Regions from separate parts of the Homo sapiens genome. Here region 1 is linked to region 2. Evidence: promoter capture Hi-C in human tissues and cell types (Jung and others, 2019). All regions are on one chromosome and are shown on one strand. The core of a region is centred on a gene start or on the middle of the fragment in contact, and the rest is flanking DNA. Distances in the headings are between cores, read along the strand shown.

Region 1 (3,231 bases), core at 580-3,079, 1.2 Mb before region 2:
GATTTTTAGGGAATGATCAAGTTTAGGATTAGAGGAAGAAGTGAAAGGAAAAGGCAAGGTTAATGCAGCAGTATTTGGAGGGGAATGGGAAGAAAGGGGATGAGATGGACCTCAAATAGAGCCTGTCTAAAGTAGAAATGAAGTTGAAGGACAAATTTTGGAAAGCCCACAGTTAATGTTCTAAGGAAAGAAACAAAATTATTTCCATTTTGCTCCCTGGTGCTGCTGACTGTTGTCATCTTCCAAGTTGCCATATTCTGTTGGATCCTGTGCCTTTTCCTTCTTCAGCATTTTCCATTTTTTTTTAAGTAAGGAACTGAGTGCTATAGGAACAACTAAGAAGAAACTGCAGGGTGTAGAAAAGCATGGTGTGATTAAAAGAATGCTGAGCTGGTGGACAAGACCTAGAATTTTATTCCACTACTGTCACTTTTTTTTTTTTTTGAGATGGAGTCTCGCTCTGTCGCCCAAACTGGAGTGCAGTGGCAAGAACTTGGCTCACCGCAACTTCCGTTTCCCGGGTTCGAGCAATTCTCCTGCCTCATCCTCCCGAGTAGCTGGAACTACAGGCACGTACCACCACACCCGGCTAATTTTTTGTGGTTTAGTAGAGACGGGGTTTCACTGTGTTGCCCAGGCTGGTTGCAAACTCCCAAGCTCAGGCAATCTGCCTGCTTCAGCCTCCCAAAGTGTTGGGATTACAGGTGTGAGCTACCGTGCCCAGCTGTCACTTTTAACCTTCATGTGATTGGTTATGTTCTCTACAGTGGCCTTGTATTAGGCACAGTGGGAATGGTGATTTTTTTTTTATCATTACTTTCATTGCTTTTCATTACTTTCATAATATTGACACCTATTCAACAGTACAGAAAGTGTATAAAGTAGGGAAGCAAGTCCACTAAACTTCCTATGCCAGTTTATTTAGTTTCTTATGGATTCTTCTAGAAGTTTTCTAGGTATGTACAAATATATATATCTGTCTTTTATATTTTTCTTTACACAGCTGAAAATCTATTCTATATACTGTTTTTTCAACTTGTTTTTCCATTTGATTGTATCTTGGATGTCTTTTTACGTCAGCATATATGGATTTATTGTATTCTTTTACTAGTTAGTTACAAATTACTTATCCCACCTTATGGAGAAACCCTATGTTTTTTGACCTAGTCTGGTGATTTTAAGGAGCCCCCTGATTATTATGGTCTTTTATAGCACAGTTCTCTTCTTTTTCCTAACATGGTTCTTACATGACATTTTATGTTTTCTGTTTTTTATAGTAGATATTCAGACTGACAATGATTTGACAAAGGAAATGTATGAAGGAAAAGAGAATGTATCATTTGAACTTCAAAGAGACTTTTCCCAGGAAACAGACTTTTCAGAAGCCTCTCTTCTAGAGAAACAACAGGAAGTCCACTCAGCAGGAAATATAAAGAAGGAGAAGAGCAACACCATTGATGGAACAGTGAAAGATGAGACAAGCCCCGTGGAGGAGTGTTTTTTTAGTCAAAGTTCAAACTCATATCAGTGTCATACCATCACTGGAGAGCAGCCCTCTGGGTGTACAGGATTGGGGAAATCCATCAGCTTTGATACAAAACTCGTGAAGCATGAAATAATTAATTCTGAGGAAAGACCTTTCAAATGTGAAGAATTAGTAGAGCCCTTTAGGTGTGACTCTCAACTTATTCAACATCAAGAGAACAACACTGAGGAAAAGCCTTATCAGTGTTCGGAGTGTGGCAAAGCTTTCAGCATTAATGAGAAATTAATTTGGCATCAGAGACTTCACAGTGGGGAGAAACCCTTCAAATGTGTGGAGTGTGGGAAAAGCTTCAGCTACAGTTCCCATTATATCACACATCAGACAATCCACAGTGGGGAGAAGCCCTATCAGTGTAAGATGTGTGGGAAGGCCTTCAGTGTTAATGGAAGCCTAAGTAGGCATCAGAGAATCCATACGGGAGAGAAGCCCTATCAGTGCAAGGAATGTGGAAATGGCTTCAGCTGTAGTTCTGCATATATTACACATCAGAGAGTCCACACTGGAGAGAAACCTTACGAGTGTAATGACTGTGGGAAAGCGTTCAATGTTAATGCAAAATTAATTCAACATCAGAGAATCCATACTGGAGAGAAACCTTATGAATGTAATGAATGTGGAAAAGGCTTCAGGTGCAGCTCCCAGCTTAGGCAGCATCAGAGCATCCACACAGGAGAAAAGCCCTATCAGTGTAAAGAGTGTGGAAAAGGCTTCAATAATAATACAAAACTCATTCAGCATCAGAGAATCCACACAGGTGAGAAACCCTATGAATGCACTGAATGTGGAAAAGCCTTCAGTGTCAAAGGGAAGTTAATCCAACACCAGAGAATTCACACAGGCGAGAAACCCTATGAGTGTAATGAATGCGGGAAAGCCTTCAGATGTAACTCCCAATTTCGGCAGCATCTGAGAATTCACACTGGGGAGAAGCCCTATGAGTGTAATGAGTGTGGAAAGGCCTTCAGCGTTAATGGGAAACTAATGCGGCATCAGAGAATTCACACTGGGGAGAAACCTTTTGAATGTAATGAGTGTGGGAGATGCTTTACTTCTAAAAGAAACCTACTTGATCATCACCGAATCCATACTGGAGAAAAGCCCTATCAATGTAAGGAATGTGGGAAAGCCTTCAGTATCAATGCCAAACTAACTAGGCATCAGAGGATACATACTGGGGAGAAACCTTTCAAATGTATGGAATGTGAGAAAGCATTCAGCTGTAGTTCTAACTATATTGTGCACCAGAGAATCCATACAGGAGAGAAACCCTTTCAGTGTAAGGAGTGTGGAAAAGCCTTCCATGTTAATGCCCATTTAATTCGGCATCAGAGAAGCCACACTGGGGAGAAACCCTTCAGATGTGTGGAATGTGGCAAAGGCTTCAGCTTTAGTTCTGACTACATTATACATCAGACAGTCCACACTTGGAAGAAACCCTATATGTGTAGTGTGTGTGGGAAAGCATTCAGGTTTAGCTTCCAGCTCAGTCAGCATCAGAGTGTCCATAGTGAAGGAAAATCCTAATAATGAGAAAGATATAGAAAACTCTTAAGGTTAATGCCAAAATGGATCAAGTATCATCAGATTCATCCATTGAAAAACCTCCAAGAGGGCATGAATATGGCAGAGTCTTCATATGGAAACAGTTTTTATTCTATTCAGTTTAAATCAGGAAAGGATGACCA
Region 2 (3,554 bases), core at 583-3,082:
TGAAGCAGACTTAAAGGCCTAGGAGAAATGGAATTGATAGAATACTTGATGAGTCTAAGCATCCTGAGATAAACTTAGACAACTGGAAGACAGTTTGGGGTTGAATTGATAATTAAGAAAAAAAAATGAAGCATAAACATAAGGCAATTAAGAATTCCAAGTAAAATAAATTTTATAGAAAAGTAAAGGGCCAGGCAAAGTGGCTCAGGCCTATAATCCCAACACTTTGGGAGGCCGAGGTGGGAGGATGGCTTGAGCCCAGCAGGTCAAGACCAACCTGGGTAATATAGTGAGACCTCGTCTTCACAAAAAATTAAAAAGTTAGCTGCATATGTTGGCACATGCTTGTAGTCCCGGTTACTCAGGAAGCTGAGGTGGGAGGATCACTTGAGCCTGGGAAGGGGAGGTTGTAGTTGGCAAGAGATGGTGTCAATGCACTCCAGCCTGGGTGACAGGGCAAGACCCTCTCTCAAAAAATATATGTAAAGAAAGAAAGAAACAGAAAAAAGAGGCTGGATGCAGTGGCTCACACCTGTAATCCCAGCACTTTGGGAGGCTGAGGCAGGTGGATCACTTGCACGCTGGAGTTCGAGACCAGCCTGGGCAACATGGCAAGTCCCCATCTCTACAAAAAAAATACAAAAAGTAGTTGGGCATAGTGGCACATGACTACAGTCCCAGTTACTCAGGAGGCTGAGGTGGGAGGATGGCTTGAGCCTGGGAGGCAGAGACTGCAGTGAGCCAAGATCACTCCACTGCACCCTAGCCTGGGCAACAGAGTGTGACCCTGTCTCCAAAAAAAAAAAAGGAGTTGCCTCTGGGGAGGAAAAAAATTGGCGGGAACCGTTGTTTTTAAAATAACTTCACTCTTTAAACAATGTGTATATACAACTTATTTTTTATGAGCTATAAAAAATAAAAGACAAGGTTCTTATTCTTGAGGAAGTCATAGCAATAAGTACTAACAGAAGTAGGTTCAAAGCCTACTAGGATTTAAAGTGTTTCGGTGGGAGAAATTAATTCTACGCAGTAGTGTTTAACACATCTCTTGCTTACCATGTGTCAGGTCCAGAAAAAAAGAACAAAGTGAAGCCGATGAGGAAAGGATTTGCTGACTGCCACACCTACTGGGTCCATCATTTATCACTGAGGAAGCACACAAATATGAGCAAAGACATGGTCCCTGAGCCAAAGAAGCTCTGAATGTAGAGGTGGAGAATGACACCTAAAATAACTATTACAAACCGGGGCGGCCAGGAACAATGGCTCAGCCTGTAATCCTGGTGCTTTGAAAGGCCGAGGCAGGAAGATAGCTTGAGACCAGGAGTTCCAGACTAGCCTGGGCAACCTAGCAAGACCATGTCTCTATTTCAATTAAAAACAAACAAAACACAATCTAGGGTGATGGGTGCAATCTATGATTCTTCCTGGTTCCAGGAAGACAGACAGGCAGCTGAGCGCTTTACCGATAGGAGCACTCACCTGCGCTTACGTAACGCGGAGGCGGCTGCGTAAACAAAGCCAGCTCAGGGTCCAGGCTCCATCCCTATCCTCCCCGCCACCCCATCCAGCCTCTAATCAACCTGGGAAACATTCTTTCCCAGGGACCAAGTCTCCGACCAGAACTAGTCCCCTGACCCTTTTAGGGCTGAAGCCAACTCACCGACTCAGCCGCAGCTTCCTGCTCGTCCACCGCCAGGGCCCATGAGTCAGTGGCCATGGTCCCAGGCGCGGGTGGGACGCTCGTGCTGGTGGATTCGAGGGATGGCACGAGGGATCGTGGGCTCCGGGGGTTCGCGGCAGGCTCTGCTCCAGCCCCACTACAAGGCTGCAGACCGGAAGCGGCGCGCCACAGTGACGTCGGAGGCCACTCCTGTTTGGCCACCCTTTGCCCACTTGAGGCTGTCGATTCTGTTGCCCTCAGACCCGTACCCCTCAACCCCGGGCAGAGCAAGCTTTCCTATCAAGCTGAGGTAGTTATCTTAAAATGCCTAAGCTCTGGTTAACTTGGATCTCCAACCAAAGAACAAAATCAGATTCCCGCCCAACACAGTGGCAGAGTAGGCACTAATACAGATTGAACAGATTGAATATATCAAAACAGAAAACCATTACCAATAGTCACCAAAATGCAAAACAAGCACAGAGCTGTTTCCCTTTTCAGATTGGTAATTTAAAATGTCCAGATGTTGGCAATCAGCCCTGACAACCCATTTGGTTAAAAGTCCACTTGACCACTATGCAATCTTGTTAGGCATGTAACAAAACTGCACCTGCACTCATAAATTTGTACCCCAAGAGGAGGAATTGCAGCTCTCCTATGTAAGCGTTGTAGAATCAGGAGAATGTTAAAAAGGAAGAAAACAGACGGTGCGGTGGCTCATGCATGTAATCCCAGCACTTCTGGAGGCCGAGGCGGAAGGATCACTTGAGCCCAGGAGGTCTAGGCTGCAGTGAGCCATGACAGGGCCACTGCACTCCAGCCTGGGTGACAGAGCAAAACTCTGTCTAGGAAAAAAATAAATAAAATTAAAATAGTAAAATAATTAAATAGAGCTAGGTGTGGTGGCTCATGCCTGTAATCTCAGCACTTGGGTTTTTGTTTGTTTTTTGAGATTGAGTCTGGCTCTGTCGCCCAGGCTGGAGTGCAGTGGCACGATTTCGGCTCACTGCAACCTCCACCTCCTGGGTTCAAGAAATTCTCTTGCCTCAGCCTCCCAAGTAGCTGGGATTACAAGCATGCGCCACCATGCCCAGCTAGTTTTTCTATTTTTAATAGAGATGGTGTTTCACCATGTTGGCCAGGATGGTCTCAATCTCCTGACCTCGTGATCCGCCTGCCTTGGCCTCCCAAAGTGCTGGGATTACAGGCGTGAGCCACTGCACCCGGCCTTTTGTTTTTTTAAGATAGAGACAGATCTTGCTGTGTTGTCCTGGCTGGTCTCAAACTCCTGAGCTCAAGTGATCCTCCCACCTCCACCTCCCAAAGTGCCAGGATTGGCCAGGCACAGTAGCTCACATGTGTAATCCTAGCATTTTGGGAGGTGGAGGTGGGAGGATCGCTTGAATCCAGGAGTTTGAAAACAACAACATAGCGAGGCCTTATCCTTACACAAGAAAAATTTAAAAATTAGCCAGGTGTCGTCGCACATGCCTGCAGTTCCAGCTACTTGGGAGGCTGAGGTGGGAGGATCACTTGAGCCCAGGAGGTTGAGGCTGCAGTTAGCAGTGTTTGTGTCACTGCACTCTAGTCTGCGCAACAGAGTAAGACTCTGCCTCATAAACAAATAAATAAATAGGAAGAAATATCTTGGGCTTTTAGTAGTTGTAAAATAAGGATTAAATGAAAGAACTGCTTTCTCCTAACTAGAATCAAAGAAGCTTCTCTTCCCTTGTTACTTCCCTAGAAAGAAACTAGGCATTTTCCTACAATCTGAAAAAAATGAATCCCAACCTCTTTCATTTTGCCAATATTATACAACAATAAGTTAATTTCAAGCCATGAGGCCGGGCACAATGGCTCACACCTGTAATCCCAGCACTTTGGGAGGCCA

Evidence for each region. The method cuts DNA at HindIII sites, captures the fragments that hold promoters and counts their contacts. A contact is called where the count stands out against the background at its distance.
Region 1: a fragment that was not itself captured here is called in contact with the fragment with the promoter of DDX19B in region 2 in 1 of the 25 tissues and cell types used here (aorta).

What each region holds. Positions count from the first base shown.
Region 1 is chr16:71,447,932-71,451,162 of GRCh38, reverse strand. It overlaps ZNF23 (zinc finger protein 23), which reads left to right. Exons shown (of 5, transcript NM_001381984.1): 5 at 1,278-3,231. The coding sequence ends at 3,070. Among named protein-coding and RNA genes, the nearest start is that of TLE7, 7.5 kb to the right of the region's middle. The HindIII fragment of the contact is 5,546 bases long and covers 1-3,231 here.
Region 2 is chr16:70,297,464-70,301,017 of GRCh38, reverse strand. DDX19B (DEAD-box helicase 19B) reads right to left here and starts at 1,832. Exons shown (of 12, transcript NM_007242.7): 1 at 1,664-1,832. The coding sequence starts at 1,720. RefSeq lists enhancers at 1,757-1,986, 1,718-2,012. The HindIII fragment of the contact is 9,873 bases long and covers 1-2,668 here.